Regions from separate parts of the Homo sapiens genome. Here all the other regions are linked to region 4. The links are contacts of gene promoters, found by promoter capture Hi-C in blood cells and fetal thymus (Javierre and others, 2016). All regions are on one chromosome and are shown on one strand. The core of a region is centred on a gene start or on the middle of the fragment in contact, and the rest is flanking DNA. Distances in the headings are between cores, read along the strand shown.

Region 1 (2,700 bases), core at 25-2,524, 690 kb before region 4:
TAAGATTTTTTTTGGTAGCAAAGGCTGAGTGAATCCGGACTGGTTAGTCATTGGTTGCCGGGCTTTCTGTACTGCATGGGTCCCAATCCATAAACTTAAATTCTATCATCTTCGTGATAATATCTACTAATTACAGGCATAATGTTCCTAGGAGAAAAGCAGTCTTTATGGCACACACTTTAGGTGTCCAAATATATTTCAACAACATTACAGGAGCAGAACTTTTTTTTAAGAAGACTGTATAAAATCTGAAAACACTTCTGAAAGGTAGCTTTGAAAAATTCTTGGGTACTTTAATTGCAGGTGAGGATAAAAAATTTCAGCCTGTGGATAGCACCCTTTTATTTATCAGCCTCTTGATTCCTCTCCCAAAGTGACTGTATATTGTGCAGTTGGTAAGCAATTAAATAGTTGGCAACACGGTATAAATATTTAAAATTTATTAAAAACTACCAAGGCCTAAATCAAGAGATGTGATTAATTATTCAGGAAAAGTTCTATTTAAAAAAAAAAATGTGCTCACAGATGTGTAGTAATTACACAATCTGTTTCTTTTTATCATGTATATGAGCTAAATGTAATGTTTCCCTGCCTTGAAAGTCTGCATTCCCTCAGTTCTCCATAATGATGCCAATTCATTCATGGAAACAAAGCAAGAGTCATTAAGCTTATAACCATCAGATACCAAGGAAGTTGTTTCTGTAGCAATGAATCAGCCACGTGAAATCTCTTAAGATTTTTACCTCTTTACTCCAGTGACTTATCAATGCAAATAGGCCTCTGTCCATCAACTGGTATGTTTTAAACCTACAACTTAAAAATCAGTTTCTAGTTGGTTCAGCTCCTTCACACTTGGCCTTTCTGATATCCATGGCACAGATTATGATAACTGTTACTACAACCAACAAATGCCACTTCTAACTGCAATTTTTGCTTTCTTTATATAATCTTGGGTGAGCAGTTTATTGTCTCCAAACCTTGGTTGATTCATCTGTAAGACAGGAGGAGAAAGATAGCTTGTGAGAATGAGTAGCACAGTATGTGTACAGGTAAATACTAGATTTAGGAAAGAAATACGTGAACATGTACGTTGTACTTTTCCAGCCTTCTTCCTCCTGGAAACTGTTTCTCTTTTGTCTCCTAGTAACTATATTGTAGCTGCTGGCTCCCATATTTGAGAACTGAAGTTTCCACCTCATTTACCCGTCCACTCTCAAGGCTTTTTCAACCTTGGGCACTCTTCCTGGCATAAGCAAAGACTGCCGCTAGAAACCACTACATTTGGTAATTTAATTACTTTTATCTTATCCATCCATCCCCTTGGCCCTCAGGACTCTGCTCATTTGCAGAGCAAGTTTGACAGCCTCCTATCTGTACCTTTTAATCTAAAAAAAAATGGCATTGATTCAGACAGACATCTGAAAGGACACCGTGATCACCAAGGGAGACAAAAATTCTGTAAGAACAAGAGCAAAAAAAAGTGTTTATAATTTACATTAACCCTGGGCTCTTTATCAGAAAAGGCAATGTTTTGTTTCACATATCCTTTTACTTCTTTGAACAATTATGCTGGTTTATTGAGTACTTACAGTAGCCCAGACACCGTGCTAAGCACCTCACATTATATTATTTAATGTAATACACCCAGGAATCCTAGGAGGTGTAGGTGCTGCTATAACCCATTTTATAAATAAAGAATCAAAGACTTGGGTTAGGTAACTTGCCTAACATCACACAGTAAGTGGCAGAGCTGGATCCAAACCGGACAGACCTGACCCATGGTCTGGCCACTACAGCAGAATATTCAGTGGTATGTTTAAAGGCAGTTACTCAATAAGGGAAAGATAATACTGAACTATTTATTTTATTTAGGAAGCTTATGGAGAGGTTTAAATGATGGTCCTTTTTACTACACATTTTTTTCTTCTTTCCGTCTTTATTTTTCTTTTATTGAGGCCTTTAGTGTTATTTTTTAAATATTAAATCTATCTATTCTTCTCTGTTCCTTGCAGTAAGAAACATAAGGCTTCGAGAAGGCCATACAACTGTACATGTTTGAAATTCCTTGTCCAGGATGTGGTGACATAATACACTGAATCCATTCAAGAGTCAATGGTGATCTCAGTGATGCTTGTGGTTGGAATATTTTTTGTAATGAAAATAGTTAGAATCTGTTGATTAAGTACCTGTTAAGGTGTGCCTTTAAATTAAGAATTAGGAATGCTGCATGCATAATATTATATTTCTTCAAATCAGAAATAAAATATCCCATATGTAGAACTTGTCTATATGAAAAAAAAATCAGGAATCACTTATTAAAATATTTCATGTGGTTTCCAGAGTGGTCCACAAGATTGCCTCTTGGGAGGGTTCTATTTCCTCTATTAGTTTCTGGTTTTGTTTTTTTTTTTTTTTCTTTTCTCATTGTTTTTTATTTTCTATTTTTGTATATATTTTAAAATATACATAAATCTTTTATAATGTGCATAATAGTAATTTATACTTGAAATTATGTACTATTACTATGATGTATGTATCAGGTACAGCTCAAAAACAATTTGTTGATGAAATACATGATCAAAAATGATCTGGAGTGTACTAGTTTATAGATTTGGAATTATAAAGTATTAGGAATTCTTATAAATTTGATAGTTACACTTCTAACTTTTCTAAAATATAACAAGCATTTATTTATTCGTG
Region 2 (2,700 bases), core at 78-2,577, 660 kb after region 4:
GAGGAGATGGTATACGAAGAGCTTCAGCAGCACCAGGCAAGAGTTCTCTGTGGGTAAACCTCAATATCCTCAGTAACAGATATCAGAAGCCTCAATGCAGACAACAGCAAGCACCAGTATCACTAACATGTTTGTCAGGCAGTGGAACCTTAACCATTGTAGATCCTGGCATCAGTAGTGGGGTATCAGATTCACCACAGAGAGCTGAAATGGGATCATGAGAGAAGGAGATCTGAGGGAACTTGTATGTAAAGTAGATGTGAGACATCTGGAGACTCTCAAAACTATTTGGGAGGAATTTGAGTGAAGCTGAGATTCTTCTAGTTCAGGGAAGCATTCAACTGGAGAAATATTAGTTTCAGTTTTGACCCTATTTTGACTTTCAGGTTACTGTGATCTTAAAAGTGTAAATTACATTTATATAATATAATAAGGCATTGTAGGGCCCTGGAAGTTATTTAATACAGAGGGGAACCTTGTTTGTCTTACTCTTAGGCATGTCCTCATAAGGCTAATTGTCCTCTGTAATCCTAGCTGTTTATATAAGTCCTTAATAAATATATATTACCCTCAATTTTTGATATAGTTGATTCAAATGTCCCATGACAGTTAAGTCTAATGTTCAAGAAGGGCACTATATGCAAAGTGAAATTATAAGGTAGATATAGTGACTGAACTTCATTGGTTTTTGCTCCAAAATAGATCTGTTAGCTGTATTCTATTAATGTATTCCTGTGCAATATCTCGATGCCTTCAAGGGGCACCAGGACCTTATAAGAAGTATATGTATATATTTATAAGTAAAATATGTTGAGTGAGAAGCAACTACATCTGCTTAGGACTGCTGAGTGGGACTAGCCAACAAAGTGAGATAGTGAAAGGTCTACTTGGAATAGCTCGGTGAATTCTACTATCACTTACCAAATTTTCAAACCAAAAACCCAGCAGTTTGTTTTAGCTTTTTTACACTCCCTGGCTCCACACCATCTAATCAGATACAAGCCTTACCAATTCTAAATTCTTAAATTTCCAGTTTCTTTGTTCCTTTCCATCAACACTGCTGCCCCTAGTTCAAGTATCCATAACTCTTTCCCCTGAGCAGGTGCTTCTTTGCTGTTCTTCCTGGCTCCAGGCTTGTCTCTCTAAGCCTGCCCTTCCACATGCTATCAAACTAAGGTGCAAACCTCATTTCCTTGCTCAAATTTCTTTAATGGTTCCTTCTTCATCTGGGTCCTCCTTATCTTCCTTCACTTCCTTCTATAGTCAAATCAAGACCCACACAGTGGGAGGAATAACCCCAGCTCTCAGCAATGCAGAAAAAAATAAAAAATAAAAAAAAAACTGGCCAGCAACCTAGCTTAAAGGATCTTCACATTCTGCGGCAACGACTCTGTGGACCGACCAAGGAAGGAGAAGGGGCAGGAACCAGTAAAGTACTTCCCTGGTGGTCAAATTCTAGAGGGCTAAATGTGTGTGTGCATGAGTGACCACAAACAACCCTGCTTGCGGTGTTGTTCTTGTGGATGGTGACAAGTCCTACTGCTGGACAGAGTGAGTGGGTCCTCTCTGCGGTTCCATAGCTACCTCATATGGCTTAGGGTGGATCCTGCCATGGGATTTATACTGGCACACCAACACTAAGAGGGGCCTAATTCTCCCTTGAGGGAGCAGCCAGAGAGGACGACATGAGTGGGAAGTGTGCAAGGGACCTTCAGAGGGGGAAAAGGAAGAAACAGGTCAGCCTTCCAGGGCAGCAAGGCAAGACACCCCCTGGTGTGAGAGTTTGAGCCTTCTGGGACAGACAAGGCAAGACATCCCTGGTGTGAGGGGTTGAGCCTTCCACTAATTTCAAAGGTCGAACCTCACACAAACCCCCTCTTTCCTTTCTTCTCAGGGGAGGAAAGGATAGCTCCACTCCCACTGGTCCCTCCCCTAGGGGAAGGGGAAGGGGAAGGAGAGGGGAGAACAGCAGCACATGTGGCTGGCAGAGAGAGAGGAAAGAGAGAGAGAGAAAGAGAGAGACAGAAAGAGACAGAGAGACAAAGAGGGAGTCAAAGAGAGAGAGAGGCAGAAAGAGAGAAGAAGAGACAGAGAGACAAAGAGGGAGTCAGAGAGAGAGAAAGAGAGAGACAGAAAGTCAAAGGAGAAAGAAAGAGAGAAAGACAGAGATAGAAGTATTAGGGAAAACAAACAGTGTACTCTATTCCTTTAAAAGCCAGGGTAAATTTAAAACCTATAATTGATAATTGAAGGTCTTCTCCATGACCCTATAACACTCCAATACCACCTTGTTGTCAGTGTGAACAAGGGCATAACCTGAGAGCACTGAGGCCACTGATAACCCATAGCCTTCCTAATCAAAAATCCTTAACCCAGTAACCCGTGGATGGCCCAAGTACATTCAATCTGTAGCGACAACTGCTTTGCTAACAGAAGAAAGTAGAAAAATAACTTTTAGAGGAAACCTCATTGTGAGCACACTGCACCAGTTCAGAACTATCCTAAGTCAAAAAAAAAAAAAGGGAAAAGGTAGCTTACTCACTCAAAAATCTTAAAGTATGGGGCTATTCTGTTAGAAAAAGATGATTTAACATTAACCACTGATAATTCCCTTAACCCAGCGGGCTTCCTAACTGGGAATCTAAATCTTAATTAATTACCATATAAAGGTCCAACCAGACCTAGAAGGATCTCTCAGGA
Region 3 (2,700 bases), core at 66-2,565, 670 kb before region 4:
TATATATGTAGTGTGTATGTATGTCTATATACACTATATATAGTGTGCATATATGCATATATATACACTGTGTATATATATGTGTGTGTGTATATATATATACACACAGCACCAAAGATTTGGAGGCCTATGAGAATTTGTTACCCCAGCTACACAGCACTGAGTTTTTTGCGGTGTGTGCCCAGGCTCTTACATTACTTTAAAAGACTTTTCCAGGTGAACATTAAAAGAGACCTTTTTATTCTGTTGGGGATTTAAAATCATTGTTGTTGTGCATTTAATATGTATTTCTTGAGCACAAGCTACATTTTCAACATTCTGCTACATTTTTATTTTTGGAAAGGCCTCAAGAGACTTATCTACAACTCAGGATCAACTTTAACTGCTACCTAGTTTACTTGGTGAGTCAGTCTTGAAACCATTTGCTTTCTGATAGATGGAAATTCTAAATTAGTAGGGTCAAATATACAGGGAGTTTTTAGTAGCCCTGGTTGGTCCAGTTTGGAATCTGGTGTTTCCAGAGAAGCAGGATCCAGTGTAGGAGTTAGAGGACTCAGGATACTATATGTGAGCTAAAATAATGTGTGCAGTAGAGCTGGAAGATCACAGTGAAATTCTCACATATTAGGGAGCTCAGAGATGCAGATGGTGTGCTGGAAAATGCATTCATGAGCTGTGTGCCAGGCAGATGGGAGTCAGTCAGGGCAGCTCCACCCTTAGGCAGGATTCCCTTCCTAAGTTCAACTCATCAGCAGTAGCAGCTGCAGATTAAAAACAGACATGGCAGCTCTGTGTCTGCTAGCCCCACCCTTCTTCCCTACCCCAGAGAGGCCCTTGGGTCTATATATTGAATGATCCTTTCAAAATATCTCCTTTTGACATGAGATAAGCCTGGCAGAAAGAAGAGGGAATACTGATTAGAAGACCTTGTCTCTCGTGAGCTCAGAAGATTTCTTTATTAAGAACAAGGAGCAATCTTGGTGCATTGTCTTGGAACCAATATTTCTAGATTTTTTTTTGATATATTTTATCCAAACAGTGGAGGCTGATCAGAGGAATGTGACTGATTTTCAGAGTAGGCAAGTTAATTGTTAACCTAATACAGAATTGGCTAACCTAACCAGTGTGAGTCTGGATGGACCAGGAGGCCCTTACCCCATGGGAATCAGTTTTCTGATCAAAATAATTTTTGTGATCATTATCATTTAGCTAAAGGCAACATGAGCTAGCTTTTCATGGAAAATACTAAAAACGTAAGTAAGGCTAAGACGTGAATGATTCGTGATGGTATTTTGAAGTCAAGTTGGTAAAAACTCAAAAATTATTGCTATTCAAAAATAGTATTGCAGAAATGTCCTGGGGAACATAAACACCGAATTCATAACGTACCGTCATACAGACATTTCAGGGGAATGGTAGCAGTATGATTTAAGCAACAATGGCAATAAAGCCTCCAGGGTTCTCTTGTCCTTCCCATCAGAGATTTACACAGCAAGTCTGAGGATGTTTTTACAGGCAGTTTGGATATTTTACCAGAATGACTTTCCCTTTCATGGATTCGAAGGAAGGGACAGACACATGTGCATGCCATTTGTGCAGTTATTGAAGTTAAATATTCTCTTTAGGAGGATGCAGCATTCATTAAATATCACGATATGTGAACTATGTTCCAAGCAGTGGACTAACTGAACATCTGCTTATTCTGTTTTTCAATCATTAAATGGAAAGAGGGTGTGTAGGGAATAGGGCAGTGTGAAGATGGCACTAAGAGGGAGATACTCGGAACACAGGGCAAAATGGAAACAGCTTCCTCATGTTTGGGCAAATTCCAGTATGCTTAGGATAGGAAATTTAGAAACCAGAAGTATAGCATGGCTGGGAAATTAGATATCAGAGTTTGTTTTAAGTCTGTTAACACAGATATAAGTGGAATTTAATATTTAAACTTGTGCTTATATTTACTAAACCAAGTTAAGAACATAATGTGTTTATTTTTTTGAAAATGAGAATTACCTTTATTGATTAAGGCAGTTTTATTGTGAGCAACTACTGTTATCTCCCCAAACTCTGTTCACTCGCTCCTTGGCTGAGTGGAAATGCTTTTTCAGAAGTTGAATTCATGCAGCCTTCAATTTTCTCAATTCTTTGGAGAGGTCCAAGTGGCAGATTGTTTTAGGGAAGGCAACAGTTGGTTGACAGGCAGTGGGTCACTGAAAGTCAGCCGTAAGGGACATATCACTCAGCCTCTTGAGGTCCACCCTCACTGGGTCCTGCAGCCCTGGTGTCCTTAAAGCACCAAGCACTGTGGCAGCAGGATGCCTCTTAAATCCATCCCTCTTCAGCTCATGCCCCACTTTAAAGCAAAAAGCAATATATCCCTTGTCCTCACTGTGGAATTGACCTTTAATGTAACAATTTGTTCTAAATTTAGACTTCACCAACTTTACACTGGAGACAGAGATTGGATTATAATAGCAACTATTTAACTTTTGTTAATCTGTGGCATTCAAAAAGAGAGGTTGCCTCCCTTGAGCAATTTGCCATCTAAAAGGAAGAAGGAAAATTTTAATGGGAAAGGCATTTTGACTTTTATACTCAAAAATAATTTTTAAGTGAATAACATTTAATGTGATGATGACAATGACAAAGAGGAGGAGGAGGAGGTGGTGGAGGAGGAGGAGGCGGAGGAGGTGGTGGCAC
Region 4 (2,700 bases), core at 194-2,693:
AAACTTTCTCTATGCCTTACATCTCTTTTACTATAGGATGACGCTTCTTAACCTCTTCTCTGAATACTGTTCTTAAATATACACAGGATTTACAAGAAAACTAATTCTATTAAAACAGTCATAAAAAGTAAACGCGATATATATATGTGCTTCTCTGTTGCATTCAATAAATTCAGTGATGTGTTACTATAATTTTGAATAAGTATAAACAGTATTTCTATATTAACTGCAATGTGATATAAACATATTTTATGATCTCTACTGATGACAGTCACAGATACTACTGTGATTTGTTGCTTATATTTTAACTGAATATTAGTTTTTAAAATTTAGTGAAATGATATACCTTTCTTTCCATCCAAGTTCATGGGTTACCTAAATTGTATGAAACCCACTATTTAGGAAGGCTTGATCAAAATTTCATATTTTACCAGGGAAGAAGTCTTACATAGAATTATTCTGGAACATCAGTATATGTAAAGCAAGGTACTAAAGTATTCCCTATGCTTAACCATTCTTCACCCCAGGGTTAAAATCAGTTTCTAGTGTCTGGTCTTTCCACCAATGACTGAGGTGTTGACCAAATGTGCTAGATCTAGAAAACATACTTTTATTTTAGAAATGTATTATATTTTATCACCCCTAAAACCTTTCCCCATAAGGTGATTGTAAAACCGCCTCATTCTTTAAATTTCTACAACACACACGTCTTACCATGGCTAACATCTTAACAAGGCAGAATCTATTTGTGATTAGATGACACTGAAATGTAGTTCCCTACCTTCCTTCCACTCATTACATTATTTAGAAGACTTTTTAAGAAATAATTTTTTTTTAGGGAGGCAGGCACTTCGTAGAACCCCCTTCACTAAAACTTTGCACTACTGGGAAGTCTCAGCTCGCCGTAACCGACTCAGTCCGGCCTAGCCGATCCCGCAGTCCCGTGACCCGCGCGGTCCAGAGCGAGAAAAGGGAACAGCGCAGGGCTCCCCGGAGCAAGGACCCCACCACACCGCACCCCACCCCACCCCCACGCCAGGCAGGACGGCCGAGGCGGGAGGACGCTGCGGTCCAGGCGCTCGCCCTCCACCCCGGTCCCGGCCCGGGCCAGGCCAAAAAGCTCGAGAGCGCGGCATCCCCGCCTGCTCCCCTCCCATCCCCGGCGAGGAAGTCACCTGAAATGACCGGCCAGGGAGCAGCGGCAGCACCACACGGGCATGGAGCGCTGCGCGAGGGGCGCCCGAGCGCGGCCGCCGTGGCCGCCTCCGCCTCCCCCGGCGAGGCTGCCCGCTCGGGGCGCCCGCTGGCTCGGGGTCGCGGGGTCTGCCGGGCGCCCCTGCCTCGCGCCTCGCCGTTGCCGCGGCTGCCCCGGCTCTGTGGCGCCGGAGTCCGCCTCCAGATAGCGGCTTCCGCTCCTCGCCTGCAGGGAGCCAGGCGCCGGAGGCGGGTGATCTCGGGGCGCCGCGATAGGGGCGGAGCGGGGCGGGGACGCTGCGACGGCGGCTGCAGCGGCGCGCGGGCCCCTCCTCGCAGGTGCGGCTGCGGCGGGCGAAGTCTGCGATTGGTGGAGCCACGGCCCGGGCGAGGGGCCGGGCCTGATGGAGCCGAGGCTGCGCGGGCAGGGGACCGAGGTCTGCAGGCAAACTGCGCGGCTCGACCGGCGGCAATCGAGACCTAGACCTCGGTCAGCGCCCCGCCGCCCCTCTGCGTGCGACTTGGTGAGGCCGGTGGGTGCGCGTCGAGAGGGCCGAGGGACGAGCGGAAGAGAAGCTGCTGCGAACTCGGGCCACCCAGATGGCCCGGCGGAGTTCCCTGCGTAAGGCGCGGCCTCGGCCACTTCGCCGAGGACCCCGGGAAGGGTCGAGCTTCCCACGCCTGAGAACCCACCTTTGGGCATTTCCTCGCGCTGCCGGGGTGCAGACGCCGGGAGCTTCCGGGTGCCTCTCCCGCTGACCCCCGCATCACAGTTACCTGGAGGACTCACCAAACCACAGGTGCCCGGGACCCGCCCACCACGCTTCTTTTATGGAAGTCCCGCTTCCGGGAAGAGGTCATCCTCCCCTCTTCATGTCTCTCAAACACCCACAAGTGTAGGAATTACCAGCACGCCGGGTGAAAATCCAGGTGCTCATCAGGCCCGCCCCAGACCACACCGGCCAGTGTGGGGAAGGGCAGGAACCCCTGCTGCTTTTTAAGCCCCTGCGGGCGTTTGTGATGCAATAGGGAGTTAGAAAAGTACTCAATAGTGAGTGTCGTTATTCGGTTTGTCAAAAATTAAAGGTGGGGAGGACAAAAATCAGGAGAGATTGATTGCATCTACTTTTCTACGGAAATGTCTAACTCCGCTTCCAAAAAAAGCCGTAATTATTTTTGTGCTTCAAATATACGTTTATGTTTATATCTTTCAACATAATTTTGTAAAACAAATGTTAAGTTTTACTGAATGTTGTCACTGAACAAACTTGTGATGAGCAGGTATTTTAGAGTCTTGGGGTCTTAAAAGAAAATCATAGGACTCAGACTGCCCCAGAGTTATGCAATCTAAGAGTATATTAACCACTTTTAAGTATTATATGTTTTTCTCTTTTTTGAGCTTTTGTCGATTTGACACGTTCATTTCATTTGAATGTTGGTTCTGAAAATGAAGCATGTAGTTACTTTTCCGTTAACATACATAACAGCATTTTAAAGTACCTAAAT
Region 5 (2,700 bases), core at 166-2,665, 760 kb before region 4:
AACTGAACACCTGGAAAGCAATATTACTGGTTTAATATGTCTCCACTTATATATTTTATTTGAAAATGCCCATAAGAAACCTTACTGAAAATATAGGAAAGAAGATTCACTTCGAGAAGCAAAATGGCTTTAACGCAACAAAAATCTTTTTCAGAGTGAAAAAGCAGCAACACCAACACAAAACTGATTTTATTCTTTCTACCACCTGAATCATGCTTAAAATAAAGTGCTTTCTGGCTGCTTGAATAGAACAACAATGGATTTCATGATAACTTTTCCAAAGATTTATCAAACAATATATTACCAAAAACCAATACTGCTGAGATAAGCTATACATAGAATTTAATGGCAAAAAGATAATTCATTAAAATTATATGCATCTACATATGTATACAAATACATTTCAAGCCTCTGTCTAATGAATTGATAACCACCATGTGGCATTCTAAAATCATAGTAGATACCTAGGTACTTAAACAAAAATATAATTTTATCACCTTTTCTTTTTAACTTAAGCTAAAATTGAGTATGTCAGTGATCCCATTTGATTTTTCTCTTCCATTGGACAATAGTTTCTAAATATCATTTTATACTTCTCATTTACAATGAATTTGGATTAAGTAAAATATGTACAATGCTGGCTCCTTGGTGCTTATGTGCCTCATGAATTGGTAAGTCACAAAAAGACTCTTCAACACTACCTTTGCCATACAAAGGTATCCCTACATACGTAGGGATTCCTTAAAAGAGATTAATGGGATTCTCCAGCTTCTCTAACTGATCCTGGGGAAGACAACTGTGAACCCAGCTGTCTTCCCTGGAGGACAGGCATTAGAGACCCCACAGCTATCTCCTTCCACCTATTTACATTTGTAGAATAAAGCTGACACTTTAAATTGCAAATAAACAAACGTAAATATCTATCAGATTTTATTATAGAAAGTTAGAAAGGAGTTTTTGCCCTCCAAGATTAGAGGCTTTTAGCATGCCTCAGCAACTGGGAAATAACAAGATAGTGCCTAAAGATCAATTTTGTGAGCTTTAATTCAGGAAGGAAAATGGGAATCCACTGGAATTGTGAAGGACACCCCAGATCCCAGGGAGGATAATGTGGGCAAACAGCTCCTGTGACAGTATCTGGCTACTAAAAGTGTGTGAAGCCCCAGTATGTGAAAGAGGCAGAAAACCTTCCTCTGTGACTTACCTTTCCACTGGGGATCCAAGCAACCCAGGCCAAGGGAAAGCACTTTGTTTCTCCCAAGCTCTGAATAAACTGGGGAGAGGCTTGGAGACACTGTGAGGGAAAGACACCAGAAAAAGCTGCAGGCATTTTCCCAGACCCGGGACCTAAAGCAGGATGCCATTTTAAATCCAGATGCATACACAGTCAGCCATTCTTTGTCAACCTAGCAGCCTGGCTGTGGAAGCATTTTAGTCTCTGCCAAGAGATTGGAGCACCTGCCCTGGAGTGGGGTAGGGAATTACATAGCCACAATTTGGGAAGTACCTCAGCAGTAGGCACTGGAATTGTGCTCTCTCCTATCACAAGGCTGGGGCAGGAGAGAGCTGCTACAGCTGTAGTTTCTCCTGGGTGGCAAGACTTGCAGCTAGGGCCAGCTTGGTGACCTGGAATCAGTCTGCATGTGTCCTTGCTGGGTGCCCCAGCCTGCTCCCCAGAGATCATGGTGCAGCAAGGTCTTCTCTGTTCCACCCCTAGGCAGAAATCCAGGCACTCGGAGCACCCACCTGCCTGGACCAGCAGCCTGAGCTGCCTGATCCTTCATGGACATGGACATGGTGTAGCATGGGACATAAACATGGTGTAGCAGGTCCCTCTCTGCTCCATACACAGGCAGGTCTCTCCAGGTATTCAGAGCACCCCTCGCCTGGATCAGCAGCCTGAGCTGCCCCACCTTTCCTATATATAGATTGTGGTGTAGTCGGGCCGTCTCCGCTCCATGCCCAGCAGATCTCCAGGCATTCAAAGTATCTCCTCACCTGGATTGACAACCTGAGCCACCCCACCCTTCCTGTGCAAAGATCCGGGTGCAGAGGGACCCTCTCTGCTTCATACCCAGGCAGATCTTCAAGTATTTGGAACAGCTCACCTGATTCAGCAGCCTGAGCTGATCCACCTTTCCTGTGCAGAGATCTGGGTGCAGAGGGGCCCTCTCCACCTCATACCTAGGCAGATCTCCAGGAACCTAGAGTACCCACTATCCTCATTCCCATGCAGAGGACTGGGGCTGAAGAGGTTTCTCAGCTCCACACCTAGGCATACCTTTGGGCACTTGGTGGCCACTCACTAGATGCTCCCTCAGTAGTGGTACTTATGCCTGCCATTGGAGGATCTGCAGGTGGACCTTCCCAGTCCAACTCTACTCATCTTGCCCCTCCACCACCCAGGGCTGAGCAGGGAGCTCAGACCACTGTGCACCCCATAAATCAGTGCATTGTCAGAGGCAACAGATATCTTCTTCCAGTAAACAAGGATCAAGTACATACCCAGCTGCATTGGCCACAGCCAGCTCTTACCTATAAGCAACATCTGGGTAATATCAACTGAACAAGGTGAACTGGTGTTCCAAGTGCCTGCAGATCTGCCTGGCATAAAGCAGAGAGGGTCCCTCTGCATGCAGATCTCCGCACAGGAAGGGTGGAGTGGAACTGCATAACCCAGTAAAAAACCTGCTGACAGAA
Region 6 (2,700 bases), core at 115-2,614, 570 kb before region 4:
AAATAGATTTTTAAGGCTTTTAAAAACCCAAATAGCTTATTTATTTCCAAAAATGAAATTGCAAACATCTGGAAGCAAGATGCAAACTCTTGCCCTTGGAGATTATTTCTTATTTTAAGATTTATCCTCCTGTGTTGCCATGACTACTGACCATGAACTGAAATTGCTGTGTAATACATTCTAACTCCCATAGTGATTATACTGAAACCAGTGGTAAGTTTCTAATAATTAGAGGAGACAACTTCAAAGGTGGACTTGACAGAATCTTCATACATTATGTTAAAATCTTCTCCAGGGTTTTGGGCTATTGGTTGTTTATTCAAATGTGGCATTAGTATGGACAGGGTAATTAAATATGGAGCAAGAATTTCTGCCAAATATAAATTCTTTTGTCACATTCTAATGTGTCAAGTCATGTCAAAAAGGAGAAAAAGAGACAACCCAATTCAATGTTAGTTGGATGTGCAAGAGAGTGGTTGTGTATTTGGTAAACAAATGCTCATCCTCTGAGAGCTCCTAAAATAGTAATTTCTACTCTGAGGCATATAAATTCTCAGTTGGAGAGAAAGAAATAATGTTTGGTGTTCCAGAAAATAAAATGAACCCACTTAGGCATACTGACACCTATAATACTTAATAATTTACTCTTTCATTAGCACTAGGGTGATTTACATTATTTTTATATAAGATTACCAAGCTTGTGAATCATGTAGGAGAAAGTTATTTGTGCTTTAATAGCATATGGTTTCACATAACTGCATTCTTCCTGAAGGCAGATAGATGGCTACCTTTAGCTAGTATATTTCAGACTGACCAGGAAAAGGGAAAGACAGAGTGAGATATTGTTGAGATCGTATCTCACAACTGCCCTAATCTATGGGCAAGAGTGATGTATTTGTTTTCCACTGGGGCTAAGAACCATGCATTTTCCAAAATCAGACGTATCTTTTGCTTCCAGAAATGTTGCATTCTCATCGCAGTATTTTAACCTAAAAGTAAGCACTAGGAGTATTATTCTAATTGTGCTTCTGCATTGAGTTAGATGATGGGTGCGCTATCAAGAACAGGAGGGAATAAGCCGCTTCCCTCATGCTGATGGTGCTTCCACAGTAGGAGTGGATGAGATAAATCGCAAAAGGAAAGAGAGAGAAGGAAGGAAGGGAGGGAGGGACGGAGGGAAGGAAAGAAGGAAGGAAGGAGGGAAGGAAAGAAGGAAGGAAGGAAGGAGTTGGGAGAAAGGAAGGATGGGAGAAAGGAAGGGAGGGAGGGTGGATGAGAAAACGAGTTGATAAGTGTCACGAAGGAAAGAAGACAGGATGCTGAGGTACAGAATGATGGGTGGCAGTGGAAGGTAGGAGAGACAGCTACTGTAGATAGGGAGGTCAGGAAAAGTCCATGTGAAGAAGTGACATTTCAGAGGGATCCAAAGGGCTTATATGCTATAGGCAGACTGTTGGAAGTGAAAGAATGAGAAGTTTGAAGTTTAAATCCTGCATCTTTTATTTAAACTCTTATTAATTCAATGAATATTACACCGGGTATCTGCTACCTGTAAGTCACTGTGTTGTGTGCAGGAGGGTCCCTCATAGGACAAAACAGACATGGCTCCTCATTTATGGCACTTACAGTGTCATAGGGAAGAGAGCTGTTAACCAAGGAGTTTCCACTGTGAGGTATGGCACTGTAAAGTTGACTACATCATTGTAGAATAAAGTGAATCACAGGAAGTGTGGAATACAAGATTCCAGAGAGATGAAACTGATGTTTTGTCAGCCTCAGGACACATAAGCTCCTCCGGGTCCCAGGAGATGTGAGAAGAGACCTTGAAAAGGACCTTGAAAAGGGCTTTTTGTGCATAGACTAGAGTTCTATTTAAGGAACCTAAAACAAAGGAGGAACAGAGCCCTCTTTTCCTCTTCTCACCTGCTCCCCAAATCTCTACTCTTTGCACCTCACATTTGATGTGTGTGTGTGTGTGTGTGTGTATGCGCACAGGAGCACCATACACACATCCTGGGAAGAGAAGCTTTTGGTTCACTCCTTTTGCAAACAAGTGTGAAGAGCACTGCACCTTGTCACCAGCTACATATAAAAGAGAAAATCTAAAGAAATAGAGCACAGGATACCCTACATGCACTCTGAACTTAACTGATTGACTTGCTCATCAGAATGAAAGCACTGTTCCCAAAACTGGAGTTAAATAAAATGTCCTTGTCCTTGACCTTGATCTTTCCTTATGGAATAAGTGAGTAGAAACGCATATGCTCTCCTGGCCAAAGACAACGATGATTGAACCTCTTTACTCAGATTATGACCAAAAGCAACACATACTGTCTATCCTCTGTGGATCGTGCTCTCCTGAGCACTGAATCATCCCTGTGGTGTTGTAGGCCTCCACACTCCCATGTCTCTGTCTTAGAAAAATAGCCTCTGAGGATCTCTGCTCAATGAGAAAATAAGAGAACTGAGATCTAAAAAATATTGCCACAGTTATATTGATTCTTTTATCAATGATTGACAAGAAATATTTTTGTTAAATTGAAATAGCTAATTCATAGGTTTCTATAAGTGATATATAATATCTCCCAGTCAATTTGAGTCAATATTTTATGATAAAATTAGAATCCTTATTTAGTTTGCAAGACCTAGGACATTATGGTCTGTAAGTCAAAACAGTGGTCTGTCTTCCTCAGGAAAAGT

Evidence for each region. The method cuts DNA at HindIII sites, captures the fragments that hold promoters and counts their contacts. A CHiCAGO score of 5 or more calls a contact.
Region 1: a contact is called between a fragment that was not itself captured here and the fragment with the promoter of OSGIN2 in region 4, in 4 of 17 cell types (activated CD4 T cells, non-activated CD4 T cells, naive CD4 T cells and 1 more). The highest score is 7.4, in activated CD4 T cells.
Region 2: a fragment that was not itself captured here is called in contact with the fragment with the promoter of OSGIN2 in region 4 in 1 of 17 cell types (naive CD4 T cells); the score reaches 6.7 in naive CD4 T cells.
Region 3: a contact is called between a fragment that was not itself captured here and the fragment with the promoter of OSGIN2 in region 4, in 10 of 17 cell types (non-activated CD4 T cells, total CD4 T cells, activated CD4 T cells and 7 more). The highest score is 12.3, in non-activated CD4 T cells.
Region 5: a fragment that was not itself captured here is called in contact with the fragment with the promoter of OSGIN2 in region 4 in 4 of 17 cell types (total B cells, non-activated CD4 T cells, total CD8 T cells and 1 more); the score reaches 6.0 in total B cells.
Region 6: a contact is called between a fragment that was not itself captured here and the fragment with the promoter of OSGIN2 in region 4, in 3 of 17 cell types (naive CD8 T cells, erythroblasts and total CD8 T cells). The highest score is 7.2, in naive CD8 T cells.

What each region holds. Positions count from the first base shown.
Region 1 is chr8:90,592,416-90,595,115 of GRCh38, reverse strand. It overlaps LINC01030 (long intergenic non-protein coding RNA 1030), which reads left to right. Exons shown (of 3, transcript NR_104062.1): 2 at 1,145-1,284; 3 at 2,013-2,341. Among named protein-coding and RNA genes, the nearest start is that of LINC01030, 12 kb to the left of the region's middle. The HindIII fragment of the contact is 1,209 bases long and covers 670-1,878 here.
Region 2 is chr8:89,238,957-89,241,656 of GRCh38, reverse strand. No RefSeq gene overlaps it. Among named protein-coding and RNA genes, the nearest start is that of PARAIL, 520 kb to the left of the region's middle. The HindIII fragment of the contact is 4,416 bases long and covers 1-2,700 here.
Region 3 is chr8:90,573,772-90,576,471 of GRCh38, reverse strand. No RefSeq gene overlaps it. Among named protein-coding and RNA genes, the nearest start is that of LINC01030, 31 kb to the left of the region's middle. The HindIII fragment of the contact is 7,285 bases long and covers 1-2,700 here.
Region 4 is chr8:89,901,313-89,904,012 of GRCh38, reverse strand. It overlaps OSGIN2 (oxidative stress induced growth inhibitor family member 2), which reads right to left and starts at 1,443. Exons shown (of 6, transcript NM_001126111.3): 1 at 1,176-1,443. The coding sequence starts at 1,219. LOC124901974 (a long non-coding RNA gene) reads left to right here and starts at 1,607. Exons shown (of 2, transcript XR_007061001.1): 1 at 1,607-1,994. RefSeq lists silencers at 872-1,321, 1,352-1,691, 1,441-1,739 and an enhancer at 2,033-2,700. The HindIII fragment of the contact is 4,461 bases long and covers 1-2,700 here.
Region 5 is chr8:90,665,436-90,668,135 of GRCh38, reverse strand. No RefSeq gene overlaps it. Among named protein-coding and RNA genes, the nearest start is that of TMEM64, 21 kb to the right of the region's middle. RefSeq lists an enhancer at 1,229-1,729. The HindIII fragment of the contact is 3,241 bases long and covers 1-2,700 here.
Region 6 is chr8:90,471,018-90,473,717 of GRCh38, reverse strand. All of the region lies in intron 3 of LOC124901975 (a long non-coding RNA gene), which reads left to right. Among named protein-coding and RNA genes, the nearest start is that of LINC01030, 130 kb to the left of the region's middle. The HindIII fragment of the contact is 1,329 bases long and covers 700-2,028 here.